7 separate regions of the Homo sapiens genome follow, and regions 1, 2, 3, 4, 5 and 6 are each linked to region 7. Evidence: promoter capture Hi-C in 16 types of primary human blood cells and fetal thymus (Javierre and others, 2016). All regions are on one chromosome and are shown on one strand. The core of a region is centred on a gene start or on the middle of the fragment in contact, and the rest is flanking DNA. Distances in the headings are between cores, read along the strand shown. Region 1 holds the start of SMU1 (SMU1 DNA replication regulator and spliceosomal factor). Region 2 has its middle 3.0 kb from the start of APTX. Region 3 overlaps HACD4 (3-hydroxyacyl-CoA dehydratase 4). Region 4 overlaps DNAJA1 (DnaJ heat shock protein family (Hsp40) member A1). Region 5 overlaps HAUS6 (HAUS augmin like complex subunit 6). Region 6 has its middle 1.7 kb from the start of MLLT3. Region 7 holds the start of IFT74 (intraflagellar transport 74).

Region 1 (2,970 bases), core at 66-2,565, 6.1 Mb before region 7:
GAATGTATTAATATCCCATCAGGTATTGCATATTCAGCCTCATCTTAAATCTAATCAACTAATTACATCAAACGAAAGCAACATTGGCTGGGCGCAGTGACTCACGCCTGTAATCCCAGCACTTTGGGAGACCGAGGCGGGCGGATCACGAGGTCAGGAGTTCGAGAACAGCCTGACCAACATAGTGAAATCCCATCTCTACTAAAAATACAAAAAATTAGCCTGGCGTGATGGCAAGAAACCTGTAATCCCAGCTACTCCGGAGGCTGAGGCAAGAGAATCTCCTGAACCCGGGAGGCAGAGTTTGCAGTGAGCCGAGATCGCGCCATTGTGCTCTTCAGCCCGGGCGACAGTGCGAGATTCCGTCTCAAAAAAAAAGCAATCTTTCCAAACCAGTGCTCTTTCTTTTCTTTCTTTTCTTTTCTTTCTTTTCTTCTTTCTTTTCTTTGCTTTTCTTACTACAATCTTATCACCACTACTTTTCTTTTCTTCTTTTGAGACGGAATTTTGCTCTCCTTGCCCAGGCTGGAGTGCAATGGTGTGATCTCGGCTCACCGCATCCACCTCCAGAGGTGAAACGATTCTCCTGCCACAGACTCCCGAGTAGCTGAGATTACAGGCGCCCCCGCCACCACGCCCGGCTAATTTTTTGTATTTTTAGTAGAGACGGGGCTTCACCATGTTGCCCAGGCTGGTCTCGAACTCGCGCGCTGGGAGTACAGGCGCGAGCCACCGCGCTCCGCCCCAGCGCTTTTCTTTTTCAGTACATTTGTGAGCTGTATGGCGCCCGGTGCTTTTTTTCTTTTTCTTTTCTATCTTTCTTTTTTTTTTTTTTTTTTTTTTGAGACGGAGTTGCGCTCTTGTTTTCCATGCTGGGGTGCAATGGCGCGATCTCGGCTCACCGCAACCTCCGCCTCCTGGGTTCAAGCGATTCTCCTGCCTCAGGCTCCCGAGTAGGGATTACAGGCATGCGCCACTACGCCCGGCTAATTTTGTATTTTTAGTAGAGACGGGGGTTTCTCCATGTTGGTCAGGCTGGTCTCGAACTCACGACCTCAGGTGATCGCCCGCCTCGGCCTTCCAAAGTGTTGGGATTACAAGCGTGAGCCACCGCACCCGGCTCCGGCCTGCTTTTAAACAGTCTTCCTCCTGATGCGTATTTCTCTGGGGCAGGGGCATAAACTCCGCCCTCTGACAGCCCCTGAGGGCTCCGCCCCTACGCGAACCTCGCCCCTACTCTTCGTTCACTCTATCTCCAGAGCGGGAGCCAGACGCCGACCCAAGCGGAAGTGACGTTAGGTGTCCGCCGGAGGTGTCGTTGGTGTGTTGCGCGACTGGCCTTGAGGGAGAGCTGGGGCCTGCTCCCGGAGAGATACGGCTATGTCGATCGAAATCGAATCTTCGGAGTGAGTCCTGCGGTGGGGATGTTCGCGCCTTGCCGGGGGCCTGGAGGTTAAGGGTGTGGGGCGGAGGGTACTCGGGAGAAGGCATCCGAGAGGCCAGGGAGTGGAGGGCCATTTCCTTGCCCCCAAAGAAGCATCTTGGATCTCGCTACCTCGGAGGTGGGCCCACAGGAAAGTAGCAGCTCTCAGACGTGAAGCCCAAAACCTCGAGGGAGGTGGCACGGGTGGGGAAAACACACCTTGCAGACCTAAGTTCTGTCCTTGGCCGACTGCTGGCGCGCTGTGATTGACCAAATTAAGGATCCACTCTGGACTCCAGTCTAATTATCTGCGCAAGGGGATAGGTCTCTTTAAGCCTTGCTTCTCTCCCTGTCCAGCTTATGCAATGTGATTCGTTGTCTCTGCTTATACGGCCCCTTTGCTTTTCTCTGCCTAGCGTTTATCACTCAGTATTGTCACTGTTTGATAACCTCACCCCAAACTAGCCTTTGTCGGTGCCTAGGAGCTCCTTTTCCTTGTGGTCTCAGTGTCTAGCATACCTTAGAGGAAGAGTTAATTGCTTTTGGAATGAATGAACAACTAGCTTTTGGAATGAATGAACAACTATCAGGCCCGATCTGGCACGGAATTTTGGGTTGTCTGGGGAGAGACAGACTGGAGACTGGGCTAGAAAGAAAAATTTTCAAGGAATAGGGGATGAGAATTAGTGACTAAAGAAGACCTTAGTGTGCTTTTCCAGAACTCCATCCTCCACCTGTCCTTGCCAACACTTAATAATAATTAAATTAACAGACATAAAAATTGTGTCTGAGTGTAAGGGAGGGAGAGGACCTTTTTTGGAGACTTTTCATAGGAGGAAGGGAGGTTTATGCATTCAGCAAATACTGAAATGATGTTAACCTACTTGTCCAAGGTCACATAACTTTGATTCAAATCCCAGACTATCTTCAAAGCTTCTAGCTCTTTATGTATTCATTTCTGTTTGAAGGTAGGGAATTTGATTTTGGCTATGTCAAATGTGAGCTGTTTGAGGAGAGAGATGACTTATTTTGGGAGTGTAAAATGGAAGTCAACGGACATGTGCTAAGGAAGATAGTATCATAGCAGAATAACAGGGGTCTAAGTCTGGATACCTGCATACCTCATAAAGGGGCCATGAGAGAAAAAGACTACTGCAGGTAGCAGCAATCAGTTCCCTTTTTTTTTTTTGAGACGGAGTCTCACTCTGTCACCCAGGCTGGAATGCAGTGGCGCGATCTCCGCTCACTGCAAGCACCGCCTCCCACGTTCACGCCATTCTCCTGCCTCAGCCTCCCGAGTAGCTGGGACTACAGGCGCCCACCACCATGCCCGGCTAATTTTTTTGTATTTTTAGTAGAGACGGGGTTTCACCGTGTTAGCCAGGATGGTCTCGATCTCCTGACCTTGTGATCTGCCCGCCTCGGCCTTCCAAAGTGGTGAGATTACAGGCGTGAGCCACCGCGGCCGGCCTATAGTTGTTTTTAAGAAGAGGGGCCAGGTGCGGTGGCTCACACCTGTCATCTCAACACTTTGGGAAGCTGAGGTG
Region 2 (2,700 bases), core at 98-2,597, 6.0 Mb before region 7:
CTATAGTAATCAAAACAGTGCAGTACTAGTGTAAAGACAGACATACAGACTGATGGAATACAATAGAAATCCCAGAAGTAAATCCTTGCATAAATGATTAAATGATATTCAGTAAGTATGTCAATACCATTCAGTGAGGAAAGGGCAGTCTTTTCAACAAATGATATTGTTAAAATCTGGGTATCCACATGCAAAAAATTGAAGTTGGAGCCTTACCTTACATAGTACAGAAAATGAACTCAAGGCCAGGCACAGTGTCTCACACCTGTAATGTCAGCACTTTGGGAGGCTGAGGCAGGAGGATTGCTTGAGCCCAGGAGTTCAAGATCAGCCTGGGCAACATAGCAAGACCTCTGTCTCTATTAAAAAAAAAATTAGCCAGGCTTGGTGGGACATGCTTGTAGTCCCAGCTACTTGGGAGGCTGAGGTGGGAGGATTGTTTGAGTCTGGGTGGTCAAGGCTGCAGTAAGCTGTGATTGCATCACTGCACTCCAGCCTGGGCAACAGAGCAAGACTCTGTCTCACAAAAACAAAAACAAAAACAAAAAACAAAAAAATAAAACCACACCTCAAAAATGGATCAAAGACCTAAACATAAGACCTAAAACTATAAAACTCTTAGAAAACATAAGGGAAAAGTTTCATGACAGATTTGGCAATGTTTTCTTGGATATAACACCAAAAGACAGGCAGCAAAAGTAAAAATAGGTAAATTAAAGTACTTCACAATTAAGTTTTGTGCATCCAGGGATACAGCCAGCAAGCAGAGTGAAAAGCACCCTATGAAATGGGAATCTTATATTTGATCAGAGGTCAATATCCAGAATATATAAAGAACTCCTACAACAAAACAAAACAAAAATAACCCCATTAAAAAATGAAGTACTTGAATAGACATTTCTCCAAATACATACAAATAGACAGGAAGCTTATGAAAAGATCAACATCACTAATCATTAGGGAAATACAAAGCAAAACCACAATGAGATACCATTTCACACCCATTAGGATGGCTGCTATCAAAAAAAAGTAACAAGCGGCCGGGCGCAGTGGCTCACACCTGTAATCCCAGCACTTTGGGAGGCCGAGGTGGGTGGATCACAAGGTCAGGAGTTTGAGATCAGCCTGGCCAATATGGTGAAACCCCATCTCTTCTAAAAAAAAAAAAAATACAAAAATTACCCGGGTGTGGTGGCAGGCACCTGTAGTCCCAGCTACTCAGGAGGCTGAGGCAGGAGAATCGCCTTAAGCCGCGAGGTGGAGGTTGCAGGGAGCCGAGATTGCACCACTGCACTCCAGCCTGGGTGACAGAGCGAGACTCCATCTCAAAAAAAAAAAAAAAAAAAAGGGTTGGCAAGAATGTGGAGAAATTGGAACTCTTGTACACTATTGGTAGAAATGTAAAATCATCCAGCTGCTATGGAAAACAGTGTGACAGTTCCTCAAAATATTAAAAATGGAATTACCATATAATCCAGCAGTTTCACTTCTGTGTATATATTCAAAATAATTGAAAGAAGAATTTTTAAAAATTGTTTCACATTAAAAACAAATTTCAGTGGCTTTAGGGGTACAAATGGTTTTTGGTTTCATGGATGAAGTGTATAATGGTGAAGTCTGAAATTTTAGTGTACCTATCACCCGAGTAATAGTTACACCCAATATGTAGTTTTTTAAAATCTCTCATCTTCCTCCCACTCTCTCCACTTCTGAATCTCCAATGAACATTATACCACTCTGTATGCCTTTACATACCCAAAGCTTAGCTGCCAATTATAAGTGAGAACATGTGGTATTTGGTTTTCCATTCCTGAGTTACTTCACTTAGAAAAATGGCCTCCAGTTCCATTCAAGTTGCTTCAAAAGACATTATTTCATTCTTCTTTATGGCTGAGTAGTATTCTGTGGTGTATATGTACGACATTTTCTTTATGCATTCATCAGTTCATGGGCATTTAGGTTGGTTCCATGTTCTTGCAATTGCAAATTGTGAAAACAGGATCTCAAAGAGATATTTATACACTCATGTTCATAGCAGCATTATTCACAATAGCCAAATGGTGGAATATCCACGGGTGGATGAATGGATAAAGTATGGTGTGTACATGCAATGGAGTGTTATTCAGCTTTAAAAAGGAACTTTTTACACATGATACAATGTGGATGAAACTTGAGGACATTATATTAAGTGAAATAAGCCAGTCGCAAATGGGCAAATACTGTCTGATTTTACTTACATGAGGTACCTAGAGTGGTCAGACTCATGAAAACTGTAAGTAGAATGGTGGTTGCCAGGTGGGGGAGGGAAAATAGGGAGCTATTTAATCGATACGGAGTTTTTTTTTTGAGGCAGAGTCTTGCTCTATCGCCCAGGCTGGAGTGCAGTGGAGTGATCTTGGCTCACTGCAACCTCTACCTCCCGGGTTCAAGCAATTCTTCTGCTTCAGCCTCCCAAGTAGCTGGGACTACAGGCGAGTTCCGCCACGCCAGGCTGGTCTTGAACTCCTGACCTCAGGTAATCCACCTGCGTTGGCCTCCCAAAGTGCTGGGATTACAGGTGTGAGCCACCGTGCCTGGCCGAGTTTCAGTTTTTCAAGATGAAAAAGTTCTGGTGATTAGCATGGCAATATGAAGTGCCTGAAAGTCTTCACTGCCTGCCATACCTTTAGCTATACATTGTGCCATGTGATCTTGCTTTTC
Region 3 (2,700 bases), core at 118-2,617, 5.9 Mb after region 7:
ATTTTAATCACTGCTAATTAAAACTTTAATGGCTTATAGAAATATAACTGTAATCAAAGAACCAAATCTTGGTTTGGCAATTTAAACATAGGGGCAAATATACATTGAGACCTTTTATTCAAAGGCGAGTTTGCAAAATCTGATGTTATCGGAGTGCAAATGATTTTTAAGTCTTCAGTTACTGGGAGAGATAAGTCAGAGATCACTGTGTTAGGGAAGAAAATTATTCTCTTCCTGAGCTGAATATTATCAATTTTTGTTGTGGTTGTTTGGCTTCCTCTTTTTATCTCTTTTAAGATTTTATTTGGCCCCTATTTCTTTTATTAATTTATCATCCTTTTTGTGGTTCCCACAATGGAAATGGTGTTGGATAAAGGTTCAGAAACATGCCTTTGTGCCCAAAGTTTCATTTTCTCCCTCCTTCCTATATTAGAATTATGCAGACAATTAGAATTCCCTCATTATGGGATGGCGCTGAGGCCCCTGCTTTAAAATAATGAAACAAAACTTTCAGATTGTGTAATCATTCTTGGTTTTCCTGTTTCCCCATTTTTAAATGAAGAAACTGTAGTTAAGAGAGTGGCTGCTTTTAAGTAAGCTAAAAAACCATGTCGATACAGTTGTGATGTGATTTTGATTATTACCTTCAAGAGATAGTTAAGTGGGCCAGGTGCAGTGGCTCACGCCTGTAATCCCAGCACTTTGGGAGGCTGAGGCGGTCGGATCACGAGGTCAAGAGATCGAGACCATCCTGGCCAACATGGTGAAACCCTGTCTCTACTAAAAATACAAAAAAATTAGCTGGACGTGGTGGCGCGTGCCTGTGATCCCAGCTACTCGGGAGGCTGAGGCAGGAGAATCACTTGAACCCTGGAGGCAGAGATTACAGTGAGCAGAGATCAGGCCACTGCACTCCAGCCTGGGTGACGGAGCAAGACTCCGTCTCAAAAAAAAAAAAAAAAAAGATTGTTAAGTGACAACTGAATTCTTCTTGGGGGGAACTGGTCCTCCACAATATCAAGAGAAATAATTCCAACCAACAGTAGGAACTGATTAGCTAGTTGAGCAATTGGCATTACACATATCAAGTAGTGGTGGTGTGTCCACAGGGGATAGGTTTGTTTTTGTGCTGTGTTTCTGTTTCTTGTGCATTTATTTTTTAATTTTTTAAATTATACTTTAAGTTCTAGGGTACCTGTGTACAGTGTGCAGGTTTGTTACATATGTATACATGTGCCATGTTGGTGTGCTGCACCCATTAACTCGTCATTTATATTAGGTATATCTCCTAATGCTATTCCTCCCCCCTCCCCCCACCCCACAACAGGCCCCTGTGTGTGATATTCCCCTTCCTGTGTCCAAGTGTTCTCATTGTTCAGTTCCCACCTGTGAGGGAGAACATGTGGTGTTTGTTTTTCTGTCCTTGCGATAGTTTGCTCAGAATGATGGTTTCCAGCTTCATCCATGTCCCTACAAAGGACATGAACTCATCATTTTTTATGGCTGCATAGTATTCGGTGGTGTATATGTGCCACATTTTCTTAATCCAGTCTATCATTGATGGGCATTTGGGTTGGTTCCAAGTCTTTGCTATTGTGAATAGTGCCGCAATAAACATACGTGTGCATGTGTCTTTATAGCAGCATGATTTATAGTCCTTTGGGTATATACCCAGTAATGGGATGGCTGGGTCAAATGGTATTTCTAGTTCTAGATCCTTGAGGAATCGCCACACTGACTTCCACAACGGTTGAACTAGTTTACAGTCCCACCAACAGTGTAAAAGTGTTCCTATTTCTCCACATCCTCTCCAGCACCTGTTGTTTCCTGACTTTTTAATGATTGCCATTCTAACTGGTGTGAGATGGTATCTCATTGTGGTTTTGATTTGCATTTCTCTATGGCCAGTGATGATGAGCATTTTTTCATGTGTCTGTTGGCTGCATAAATGTGTTCTTTTGAGAAGTATCTGTTCATATCCTTTGCCCACTTTTTGATGGGGTTGATTTTTTTTCCTGTAAATTTGTTCTTTGTAGATTCTGGATATTAACCCTTTGTCAGATGGGTAGATTGTAAAAATTTTCTCCCATTCTGTAGGTTGCCTGTTCACTCTGATGGTAGTTTCTTTTGCTGTACCGGAGCTTTTTAGTTTAATTAGATCCCATTTGTCAATTTTGGCTTTTGTTGCCATTGCTTTTGGTGTTTTAGTCATGAAGTCCTTGCCCATGCCTATGTCCTGAGTGGTATTGCCTAGGTGTTCTTCTAGGGTTTTTATGGTTTTAGGTCAAACGTTTCAGTCTTTAATACATCGTGAATTAATTTTTGTATAAGGTTTAAGGAAGGGATTCAGTTTCAGCTACATATGGCTAGCCAGTTTTCCTAGCACCATTTATTAAATAGGGAATCCTTTCCCCATTTGTTGTTTTTGTCAGGTTTGTCAAAGATCAGATGGTTGTAGATGTGTGGTATTACTTCTGAGGGCTCTCTTCTGTTCCATTGGTCTATATCTCTGTTTTGGTACCAGTACCATGCTGTTTTGGTTACTGTAGCCTTGTAGTATAGTTTGAAGTCAGGTAGCGTGATGCCTCTAGCTTTGTTCTTTTGGCTTAGGATTGTCTTGGTGATGCGGGCTCTTTTTTGGTTCCATATGAACTTTAAAGTAGTTTTTTCCAGTTCCGTGAAGAAAGTCATTGGTAGCTT
Region 4 (2,922 bases), core at 401-2,900, 6.1 Mb before region 7:
AGACAAGGAGGGGAGCAAATGACCAGGACTGGTCAAGATTATATATATATATGTATATATATATGAATGGCACAGCAGAAGGAAACACAATTCTGGAAGTGCAAGCCTTCAAGAAGCAGCATATTATGATAAACCCCTCCTACAGAAAGGTATCATTTTTATCACTGATACCACAGGATAAATTATATATTACGCCATCTTCAAGTAACAGCTGAGGCAACAGAATAAATGCAGAGGCATTACAATGAATCCCACTTAATATAAAGAACTATACAGACCAACACTTCTCTACAAAATTTTTTTTTCCTCATTGCCAGTTAAATACAGAGTTTTACTTTCATAGCTTAACAATGAAGGGTCATACACTGAAGCCAATACATATACCTAGCATTTCAGTCTAAGCTTGTCCACGTACATAGCTGAAGTCAATTACAAGGTTTGGCCTAGAAATGCTAGGGGAACTTCTTTGTAGTTTTTACAGGTATTAAACTTCATCTTGCACACTGAAGTCATCATACATACAGGGCAAAATCAGAGCTTTTATATTTGCGTTTATTCTTCATTTAACTTTTTAAAACACTACTATAGTTTATTAAAACAAAAACAAGAGCAAGTAGTGAGCATATTATGATTACAGTCCTTCACTCATTCACTACTGCACATTAAATGCCAGCAGTGAGTGTTATTCACTGGCCCATTAAGAGGTCTGACACTGAACACCACCTCTGGGATGATGTTCATCATCCTCATATGCTTCTCCATTGTAGTGGCGCCGTCTTTCCTGATTTGGATCAAAGTCCACCAGTTCTACTTGGTCCATCTCATCAGTCTCTTCCACTTCCTTCCTCTCGGGTAGGAGTTTTTCCAGCAAAGACAGTTTATCAGGAGAGAGAAAGCCATTCTCAGGAAAGTTTACCTTCAAAAGAAACTTTCACTGTTCAATCTGATTTCATCATTAGCTCCCTTAGAGTATCATGGACCCATTTTCCCCAGAAAAACACATGTAAACACGTAATATTTAGGTGAATCTGCCAATCTCAGGTTAGAACAGGCTCTAAAAAGGCACAGTGCATAGCACACTCTGAACTAGAGTTCAAGGATTATGACCAGAAGTCAGGCTTTATTAAAAATGATTGTATTAAATAAAACTGCACTTTAACAACCATTGTTCTATCCAGCAAACTGACTTTTTAATACCAAAACCCATCCTGCAACAGCCTAACCCTTCTTACGACATATTTAAACAAAGCTATTCTTACTCTCAAAAGGGTAGTTCTTCCTTACCAAAGATGTTTTTAGGCCAGGCGCGGTGGCTCATACAATTGGGATTACAAATCCCAACACTTTGGGAAGCTGAGATGGGCAGATCACCTGAGGTCAAGAGTTTGAGACCAGCCTGGCCAATATGGTGAAACCCCATCTCTACTAAAAAGCCCAGCGTGGTGGCGGGCACCTGTATTCCCAGCTACTCAGGAGGCTGAGGCAGGAGAACTGCTTGAACCCAGGAGGTGGAGGTTACAGTGATCCAGGATCGCACCACTGCACTCCACCTTGGGTGACAGAACAAGACTCCCGTCTCAAAAAGGAAAAAAAAAAAAAAAAGTTTTAATTAATATTTTTATGGTGACAGGCCAATTTAAGACTCAGGAAAATGACTGGATTGCTTTATACCTATTAACAAATCAAGCATTACACTATTTTGCCAAGAAATCTGCAATTATTATAAAGCACCTCTCAACTTTAAGATGCCAGTTACAACCTTTCATTAGTAAAATACCCACTTGTCCCACACACCCTTCCCACAACCTATCTTTAAATATCCAATTAATGATGCAAAAAACCCCATCCTCAACTTGTTAACAAAGAATGCTCAACATGACAGAAGTAGTTATTAGGTAAATTTTCTTTTTTCTTTTTTTGAGACAGGGTCTCATTCTGTCACCCAGGTTGAAGTACAGTGACACGATCTTGATTCACTGCAGCCTTGACCACCTAGGCTCAAGCAATCCTCCCACCTCAGCCTCCCGAGTAGCTGGGACTACAGGTGTGTGCCACCATGCCTGGCTAATTTTTGTACTTTTTGTAGAGATGGGGTTTTGCCATGTTGCCCAGGCTGGCCTTTAACTCCTGAGCTCAAGCAATCCACCTGTCTTGGCCTCCCAAAGCACTGGGATTATAGGTGTGTGCCAGTGGCACGTGGCCAGATCCATATATTTCTTGCTGTGGAAAAATGTAAGTTTCAGGTTCTGAGGCATTCAGAAATTTTAATTTTTTTTTTTTTTTGTTTTTTTAAAGAGACAGGGTTTCACTATGTTGCCCAGGCTGTTCTCAAAACTCCAGGGCTCAAGGGATCCTCCTGCCTCAGCCTCTCAAAATGCGGGGATTACAGGCATGAGCTACTTGCACCTGGCTGAAATTTTACTTTTTTATCAGATTTTAGTAAGCCAATTGTTCTCAAGTATTCTTAAAGTACATTACAGCTTACCTTAAATTCGATGATTAGGCGACCCTTTTCATATGGTCTACGATAAATTGGCATGCCTTCATTTAGTACACACTTGATATCTCCATGCTTGACAATCTGACCTAAAAACATTGAAGCCAAGTTCTTCCTTAAGTATGGTCACATTTTTATGAGGCAGGGAATATAAAGAACAGAGCACTGTCCTAGCTCATTGGCAGGAGTAAAACTTACGTGGCAAAGCAATCCTGTTACCTTTCACTTATGGGTTTTCCAAGGGCTGACAAGAGAGCCAAGACCTTATAACTTCATCTAAGCCCAGAGAAGGATATGTAACCGAGAAAGAAAAACAATGGGTTTCCCTCAGTGCCTATACTACACTTTGTTAACAGGAGACAAGGAAAATACTAGAATAGAAAAGAGAAGTTTAAGCTTGCCTAGTTCCCATACCTGGATGAGAG
Region 5 (2,750 bases), core at 151-2,650, 7.9 Mb after region 7:
CCTGTAATTCCAGCTACTCAGGAGGCTGGGGCAGGAGAAGTGCTTGAACCCAGGAGGCGGAGGTTGCAGTGAGCCAGGATCCCGCCACTGCACTCCAGTGTGGGCGACAGAGTGAGAGTCTGTCTCAAAAAAAAAAAAAAAAAATTTTTGGCTGTGATCAAAGGATGGATACAATCTAAATACAAATTTTAAAATGCAGAATTCTAAAGTACAAAATTTTATTCATTAATTTATTTTTGAGGCGGAGTTTCGTTCCTGTTGCCCAGGCTGGAGTGCAATGGCACGATCTCGGCTCACTGCAACTGCTGCCTCCTGGGTTCAAGCGATTCTCTTGCTTCAGCCTCCCGAGTAGCTGGGATTACAGGCGCCCATGACCACACCTGGCTAATTTTTGTATTTTTAGTAGATATGGGGTTTCATCATGTTGGCGAGGCTGGTCTTCAACTCCTGACCTCAGGTGATCCGCTTGCCTCAGCCTCCCAAAGTGGTGGGATTACAGGCGTGAGCCACCGCGCCCAGCCCAAAATTTTAAAACATTAACATAGTATAAACGGTTGTGATTTTTTTTTGGCTGTCTGTATGTTTAAATAACATATTAACCAATTTTCATTGATAATAGCTTTGTAACACTACATTTATTTGTAGACTTGAATTTTCTCTCAATTTTATTTTTTACTACTATAAAAAGTGTGTTCCTCTTTTTTCTCTCTGTTCTTCCCTTAGGATAAATTTCCACAAGGGGATCACCATCCTTCTGTTTTGTTACAGTGCTAGGATTTCATAGGCCTCAATCTTGGCATGGCAAATGGACGAAGTATAAAGACTGAGCCAGGGCTGCTTTAAACTTGTCTTAGATTATGATGTTAGCAGGTTTAATAGCATGTTGCCAGTTCAGAAATGAGAGAGGGGAGGGTACAGAATGTTTCCATTGTTCTCTGCTATAAGGTTCCACAAGAATCATTCAAATGGAAACACTTGTCACCTATAGAACCCCATTCTCAAGTGGCATTTACTCATCGATTCCATCAATCCATCAAATAGTTAACATGTATGTATTGCACTACCAACCACTGTGTTAGCCTCTGGGAATAGCCTTAGGGAAAGACATAGCCTTTGTCCTTACCTTCTTGTGGTGGTGGCACCTTAGTGGCATTGGTCCATAGATTGCTGGCTCTGTTTCAGGGGGCTTTTTGATAATTTTAATGTTAAGTTTCCCTCAAAATCTAGTAGATGATCAATTCTTTGCCTTTGATATCTGGATTATATTTTGTCAATGCTACGTTGAAGCTTGAGTGATTGCAGTGATTTTGAATTATGTTTGGAACGTAGGCAAAGACTCTAAGAGTGCATATTTGAAAAAGTTTGAAAATTACATTTACTATGATATAAAATATTTGCAGTGCTATTAATTTTGTACTTCTAGTTATAAGAAGAAAGGAAAGTACCAACATGCATGCTGTTGAAAGCAGTCTTTGATAATCCTGTCTTATAGTAACTAGAGTAGAAAAGCTTTAGGCTTTTAACTTTTAAAGGTTTTTAAGACCAAAGTAAAAAAGTTACCATTTCTTTGAAGATTTTAGAATTTAATAACATTTTATAATTAGCATGAAAAGCTGCATAAATTTTAATATTTATCCAAAAGGGCAAGGGAATACAAAAGATTAACAAATACAACAGAATGTGGCAAACTAAAACTCTGACCTTATGACATTACTGTGAAACTGTAACATGTTTGCTATAGAGTAAAATTTAGCATATGAGAAATTGATTTTGGATATGAAGTATCAAGAGAATCTTAAAAATAAGTCTGCTGGGCCAGGTGTGGTGGCTCACACCTGTAATCCTAGGACTTTGGGAGGCCAAGGTGGGCGGATCACCTGAGGTCGGGAGTTTGAGACCAGCCTGACTCACATGGAGAAAGCCCATCTCTACTAAAAAGACAAAATTACTCAGGTGTTGTGGCGCATGCCTGTAATTCCAGCTACTCAGGAGGCTGAGGCAGGAGAATCGCTTGAACCTGGGAGGCGGAGGTCGTGGTGAGCCAAGATCGCGCCATTGCACTCTAGCCTGGGCAACAAGAGCGAAACTCCGTCTCAAAAAAAAAAAAAATAAAATAAAGGATCTGCTACAAAGAAACTGTGATTTGGAACCTGTGACATTGTAATAATGCAGTTCTAGTTAATTGAATCTGTTTTTAACCTGTGTTCAAGTTGTGGAGTATTCATTAAGTCACTTAACTCTTTCAAATCAAAATATTGTTGACTCAGTATGTGGTAAGTAAAGTCTTCATAATTGGGAGGCTGATACACAAATTGGGCTGAAATACTGCTCTACTTGTCACCATGCCTCCCTAGAATAAACTGCCTTTTGATGACCGGGACGAATTGAGTGAAATCGTAACGGACAGATACGGGGCAGACAGATTTTAGAATAGACTCGTAAAGGGAATGGAATTCTTTTCTCCTTATAACTTGGATTTGTTGTCTTTTTTCCTTTTAGCCCTGCCTCTTTCTTGTCGCAGTCAGTTTCATCATCAGATAGAAACAGTGTTACAGTACTTGAAAAGGTATATTTTAAAATAAGTCTCAATTAATTCTGGACCATACTAAATTATAAAATATTATTTATTTTTGTTGATACCACAGTTAAATTTAATTTCTAATTTCACATTTTCTACTATTTGTACATTTTGTACCATATCTACTTATATTCCTTATTGCTAAGTGGGAATATTGGAATTAGTTAATTCT
Region 6 (2,700 bases), core at 92-2,591, 6.3 Mb after region 7:
GTGATGGTAGTGGTGGTAGTGATCTGTCACAGACACTGTTCTCTTTTATTCTTCATCACGATTTTTATTTGATATGTTAATTACTTTTCTGATCTTCAAACTAACCCCATGGTGCTTCATACTGTGCTATATACAACAGTATGAATTTTGGTAAGATAATTATTCTTTGGATAAGTAGATGATTTTATCCCTCACCACTTCCATTTTAGTTATTATATTACTATTTCTGTATTTAGCACTGAAGTTTGTCTTAAAATTTCTTTACAGTACATTTTCTATAACCACATTGTCAAGTACACAAAAGGTTATTTTCCACATTTTTACCTCACGTTAAAGTGTGAAGATCTGCACAGGAAATTAATCGATTTTAATTGTTTTTAATGGCAAGCTTATTAAAATAGGTTGTAATTAATAAATTGACAGACTTGCATAAATTTCTTTGTCCAAAGTTGAAGGGAGAGTATTCAGTCTTGTGTTTTCTTTTCTTTCTTTTCTCCCCCTTCCTGATCTTTTTGTTGTGAAGGGGTCACGTAAGGACGTCCGTGGAAGAGCTCCGTGCGCCATCTACTGACGGAATCTAAATGTCCAGTATTTGGAGATTGGGAGTAACTACGTTGGGTTGTTAGAGCATTCTTTGAGGAAGGAGGGGTACTGGGAAAATACCCTTTCAGACTCTATGGCTTATTAGTGATTGCTGGAATAAATCTGAATTCAGCAAACACATAATTCAAAAAAGAGACCTCTATCTGTTGTGCGGGTACAAGTTTTGGAGACAATCTCAAGAGAGTCCGGTGGCTGGCGCCGGAAGAAGTTAAACCCTGAAATGAACTCAAACGGGGAATGGGATTGTTGTTTTTTGCCTGTGTCCTGAGCTACACTCGCTGTTAATGGTTACTTCTTAATAAGAAATGGCTTTACTAATGGCACGTCCAGATAACCTTTAGTTTCCAATACTATTATTACAAAGGACTGCTCTCAAATTTGATTATTTTATGAAAAGTTTAATAATGCACAATAAATAGGTCCCCCCTTCACGTAGATACTACCCACACAGCTTGTCTCTGCGAATATAAACGTAGTCCTTGTACATACATACAGACACAGCGACGCATATACCTACAGGATGATATGCAGTTATGTATATGTGTGTCAGTTGACAAATCTAAGCCCTTGGATTTAGATTAAAATGTTTCTACCTTCAGTCGTTTGCTCCATTCTATGCTAAATCCTGTAGAAGGCTGGGAAGAACTGGGGACCTCAAGCCAAAGAAGTTTCTTGATTATAACTGACAGGCAGCGGAATATCAGTTTTAGGGAATCAAAAGTTGAGTTGGAAGGCTGCTGGTTTGGAAACTAAGGTTGGTTCCAAGTGGTCCGACCTGATTCCCAGGATCTTTGTGAGAGCTGCTGGGAGAACTGAAAATTAACAGCGAGGACACAGGACGCCCTAGGTAACGTCCTCCCCGCTATTCTGCTCTTCTCAATTCAAGGGCCGAGACAACTTGCTTTTGTGGAAAAGGGAAGTAAAGGGAAAAGAGGAAAGCAAGGAAGTTCAGTCAGAAAGAGGAAGAGGGACAAAGAGGAAAGAAAGGGACAAAGAGGAAAGAAAGGGACAAAGAGGAAAGAAAGAGGGACAAAGAGGAAAGGCAAGGAGAAGAGAAGGAAAAATCAAGGTTCAGCAAGAAGTTGGAAGGCGAGGGAAAAAGGGGAGTAAAGAGAAGGCAAAAGAGGTCTAAGGGCTAGGAAGATGCAAGGATCTTTTTTTAACGAACCAAAGTCACATCCATCTTTCACTTTCAAATCAATCGTCTAGATCTTATCCGTTTCCTTTTTAAAGGTTATCTGCGTCTGTAAAGGAAGCCAGTAGTTGATACTCCTCTCCGCGCCCCACGCGTGGCCGCGCTGTTCTATCTCCGGCCACTGAGATCAAATACAACGCGAGTGAGAACATTTGCAGAGGCGCGACTCTGGGAACACTCCTGCGACTGGCTGTCACCCGGGAGTCTAACCGGATTAATACTCAGAGATGGATTACGCTGGTTGTCACCAATACGCCTAAAGATTATAATCCAATTTACGCACATTACAGTCAGTATTAACTTTATCTGCTATTTTAAGACTCCCGGTTGCCCCGCGCGTCCTCAGAGGACAATCCTCCACGTTCTGATGCAACTCAGTAGGCTGTCAGGAGGGGAAGCCCCCCGAAGAAAACAACTCCAAGCCTGGTCCCCGAGGGTCTGTACCCGGCACTCCCAGGTGTCTTGCTTTCACCTGGGCACCGCTTTATGAAGCTTCCCAGCCGGGGATTACCAAAGCGGAAGGCGTTCCCTTGCAAGGAAATAGCATCCTTGTTTCTCCCTTGTTCATTTCATTTTCAAATTTTCGGTGGCGGTGGCAGAAGGGCGGGGAGTGAGGGTGGCGGGCGGGTGCCTGTGAGTGGATGGGGCAGGGGGCCAGGGGATCGTTGCGGGTTAGAACAGCCTCAGTCATTGCTATTTTCATGCTCGTTTTTTGCAGGATGGCATTTCTCTCGCTCTCTTTAAGTAAGTTTGTTTGGGTGTGAGTTCTTGTCTTTTCAGCACAAAACCACAGAAATACGTGGTGGAAAGTAAAAGAAAGCCCACTCCCTCCTCCCCGTGCGTACTAGCTAAGGACTTGATTTAACACCCCCTCTCCGGCTGCTGAGGGCTCTAAGCAGTGG
Region 7 (2,700 bases), core at 139-2,638:
GGCAAACAAAGCGTGTGTTGGACTAAAATGATTTCTCTGTTTCTACACTCTATGTCCAGTACTACTTTTCTGACTTTTCTTAGCATTACTCGTAATCAGTCCTTGGACTGCTTCTATCCTTTCTACAGTCATGCATCTTTATAACTCCAACTATGTGTACGGCTCACTAATCAATGTCTACAGTTCTGCCCTTTCAACTGGGCACCAATTTTGAGTTTTCAATTGTTTATCTGAAATTTCCATTCAGATATCTCATTTGAATATGTTCACATCAATCTTCCTGACCCCACTAGCTCCCTGATTCTAATTCCTTGCCATTTTGAACTCTATGTACAAAGCAAAAGAATTTCAAATGGAAAAAGGAATTTCATGAAATGACTCTTTGAAAAGGAAGACGGTGTATGATCAAAATGGTTTTTCCAGAAGAAAACGAGTACAATAAACATCTCTTTCCAGTGGAAAAGATATTACTCTAGGTTTCCTGCTAACTTTGAGAAAATGTACAACATAAAAAATTTCACCCAATTTTCTTTGCCACCGTTTTACTGTGGTGAAAAAAAGCTTACCATTATATTATTACCAGTGGGATTAAGAGGCGGGCATTAGCAACAAATATACCACTAACTTCGGGGTTATTCAATCAAAGAGTCACACAATTTCCAATTATTCACACAGAGAGGCAGCCTGGCCTTTGGATCCAGAATGATTAGCGATACAAACTAGTGCTGACAAAGTTAGCGGCTGCATAATCTTGCCACCTTAATTAACCCCTCAGGATTTCATCTTCTGTAAAACAGAAGGGTGACATCTACCTTGCAGGGCTGTTGTGAAGACGATAAGTATTACATTTAAAACATCTGCTTCTAATTATTATTACTATCGTTATCCTCCCTAAGCCAACCATTCTCACACAGGTGAATAAGTGGAAAGTTGCTAACTGCCCGCACTGTGATCAACAGACAGAAATAAGTCCCTTCCACTGTAAGAGGCAGAAATGTATTGCTTTGACTAAAATCCTTCAGCCCATCGCGGTCCTTCCCTCTGCTCTGTGCTTGGCGGGTCTCCTGCGGGGGGTCGGGGAGGGGTCGGGCTGTTGGAGGAGGTCTGTTCGCAACCTTCGCTCGACTAGAATTGGTACATGCCTGGCCTGGCTACAGGCCCGACGGTAACAGTTAGCTAAGACCGAGTTTGAATTTGTTTTGTTTGGAGCGGATCAGCATCTCCAAGGCAAGAGAACAGACGTGGGAGGGAGGGAGGAAGAGATGGGACCCGGGGATTCTCACCTCCGCCGGCGCGGAAGGAGGGCAGTTGCCCGGCTCGCGGGTGCCTTAACTTCTTTCTGAGGCCCACGCTCAGTTTTCCTCGGCTCTCAGGCCTACCCACTAACTGCCGTGCGCCGCGGCGTATCCCGGCAACGGGGGCGGGATAGCGGAGGCTCCTCATCCTGAGTGACCAATCCTCCGCCTCAGCCCTTGGTTACACACGGAGCTCTCGCGAGAATTGAGGATATGTTTGTTTCTTCACCACGCTTCAGTGCTTTTTGGAAAAAGTGGAAAACAGCGGGGCGGCTGGAAGACAAACATTTTATGTGAACGTTTGGTTTTCTTGATAATCAGAGCAACCTCCGTGTGCCTTACTTGAAGTAACTCTAGCGAGTTTTGCTATGTCCCTAGGTAACCTCACGTCGGCTAACGTTGTTAACAGGTTACATTTGAAGTTAAGTGGTAGGCAGCATTGTGCAATTTTCTAAACTCCTAATTTGTGGTAGTTTTCCTTCCTATTAGGACGGCATAGCGTACACAACGCATCATGAAGTATGGATGCGATTCTGGCACCAACTGTTCCGTTCCTGCTTTCACCAGAAGCTTTGCGTCTTTAAGCTTCCTTTCATTAGAATTTGGATCCAAGTTTGTGGGGAAGACTGTGAATTCAATGGAAAGTGTCCTTTTTTTTTTTTTTTTTAATTTAAGAACTACTTCACCTTAAATCCCACTTCTCTAATAAAATAACTTTTACTGTATGTTTCCTTCCAATCTTCATTGATAACAGCTTAAATGTGATTGCATATGTATTGGGATTTTAACATTATTTTACACATTATTTCCAACTTGCCTGCCTTCGAGGAGTTAAAAATCAATACAACACAAAATGAGATAATGTTATGTGGCTGAATTCTCCCTTAGTTTGTGAAACATTTTCATGTAATTATCTCATTTGAGCTCACCCTATTTGCAGTGGCCATTTGTCATCCTTTTGGCAGAGTTTCTCCCTTACCCTGCCCCCCAACACCCTTACAGGAACTGAAAGTGACAGATACTGGCTTTCCTAGTCTTCCTTATTACTGGGACATGAGTATTATTGCTTGCTAGACTCTCCAATCTAATTTGGTGGACTCAACTCAAACTTGAATGACAACCAGAAGCAGGACTTCAGAGAGTCTGTTGAAGTAAGGGTGACAGCCGCAGTAACTACATCGTTTCCGAGACTGCAATGTTCTATCACCAGCAACCAGTGTCCAGCATCAGTGTGTTGTTGCAAGCTGCAGTGTTAGGTACTCAGAGGCTTTATTGGGAGGAGAACCTCTAGCTTGTTTCTTCAGCTTCTGGGAGAGTCTGTGAGCTGCTTAATGTCCTTTAATAAATTCATTTTCAGCTTTTATATCATTTATAGATGATTTCTGTTCCTTGCACTTAAGGACCC

The links. The method cuts DNA at HindIII sites, captures the fragments that hold promoters and counts their contacts. A CHiCAGO score of 5 or more calls a contact.
Region 1: a contact is called between the fragment with the promoter of SMU1 here and the fragment with the promoter of IFT74 in region 7, in 7 of 17 cell types (activated CD4 T cells, naive CD4 T cells, non-activated CD4 T cells and 4 more). The highest score is 10.0, in activated CD4 T cells.
Region 2: a contact is called between a fragment that was not itself captured here and the fragment with the promoter of IFT74 in region 7, in 5 of 17 cell types (total CD8 T cells, non-activated CD4 T cells, fetal thymus and 2 more). The highest score is 9.9, in total CD8 T cells.
Region 3: a fragment that was not itself captured here is called in contact with the fragment with the promoter of IFT74 in region 7 in 1 of 17 cell types (total B cells); the score reaches 5.6 in total B cells.
Region 4: a fragment that was not itself captured here is called in contact with the fragment with the promoter of IFT74 in region 7 in 1 of 17 cell types (naive CD8 T cells); the score reaches 6.8 in naive CD8 T cells.
Region 5: a contact is called between a fragment that was not itself captured here and the fragment with the promoter of IFT74 in region 7, in 3 of 17 cell types (non-activated CD4 T cells, naive CD8 T cells and total B cells). The highest score is 13.1, in non-activated CD4 T cells.
Region 6: a fragment that was not itself captured here is called in contact with the fragment with the promoter of IFT74 in region 7 in 2 of 17 cell types (fetal thymus and total CD8 T cells); the score reaches 12.3 in fetal thymus.

What each region holds. Positions count from the first base shown.
Region 1 is chr9:33,075,019-33,077,988 of GRCh38, reverse strand. It overlaps SMU1 (SMU1 DNA replication regulator and spliceosomal factor), which reads left to right and starts at 1,315. Exons shown (of 12, transcript NM_018225.3): 1 at 1,315-1,406. The coding sequence starts at 1,381. RefSeq lists enhancers at 934-1,133, 1,304-1,453. The HindIII fragment of the contact is 3,581 bases long and covers 1-2,358 here.
Region 2 is chr9:33,003,278-33,005,977 of GRCh38, reverse strand. It overlaps a transcript of APTX not described here. Among named protein-coding and RNA genes, the nearest start is that of APTX, 3.0 kb to the right of the region's middle. The HindIII fragment of the contact is 833 bases long and covers 931-1,763 here.
Region 3 is chr9:21,021,839-21,024,538 of GRCh38, reverse strand. All of the region lies in intron 3 of HACD4 (3-hydroxyacyl-CoA dehydratase 4), which reads left to right. Among named protein-coding and RNA genes, the nearest start is that of HACD4, 8.5 kb to the left of the region's middle. The HindIII fragment of the contact is 4,309 bases long and covers 1-2,700 here.
Region 4 is chr9:33,036,679-33,039,600 of GRCh38, reverse strand. It overlaps DNAJA1 (DnaJ heat shock protein family (Hsp40) member A1), which reads right to left. Exons shown (of 9, transcript NM_001539.4): 7 at 2,912-2,922; 8 at 2,486-2,586; 9 at 1-916. The coding sequence ends at 698. Among named protein-coding and RNA genes, the nearest start is that of DNAJA1, 13 kb to the right of the region's middle. The HindIII fragment of the contact is 2,491 bases long and covers 405-2,895 here.
Region 5 is chr9:19,063,330-19,066,079 of GRCh38, reverse strand. HAUS6 (HAUS augmin like complex subunit 6) reads left to right here. Exons shown (of 17, transcript NM_017645.5): 13 at 2,500-2,566. It also overlaps SCARNA8. Among named protein-coding and RNA genes, the nearest start is that of RRAGA, 15 kb to the right of the region's middle. The HindIII fragment of the contact is 222 bases long and covers 1,290-1,511 here.
Region 6 is chr9:20,622,828-20,625,527 of GRCh38, reverse strand. No RefSeq gene overlaps it. Among named protein-coding and RNA genes, the nearest start is that of MLLT3, 1.7 kb to the right of the region's middle. RefSeq lists silencers at 2,431-2,570, 2,591-2,700. The HindIII fragment of the contact is 1,902 bases long and covers 391-2,292 here.
Region 7 is chr9:26,955,100-26,957,799 of GRCh38, reverse strand. It overlaps IFT74 (intraflagellar transport 74), which reads right to left and starts at 1,388. Exons shown (of 20, transcript NM_025103.4): 1 at 1,284-1,388. IFT74-AS1 (IFT74 antisense RNA 1) reads left to right here and starts at 1,493. Exons shown (of 2, transcript NR_121605.1): 1 at 1,493-1,673; 2 at 1,785-2,020. RefSeq lists a silencer at 1-109 and enhancers at 706-1,440, 1,441-2,176. The HindIII fragment of the contact is 1,304 bases long and covers 564-1,867 here.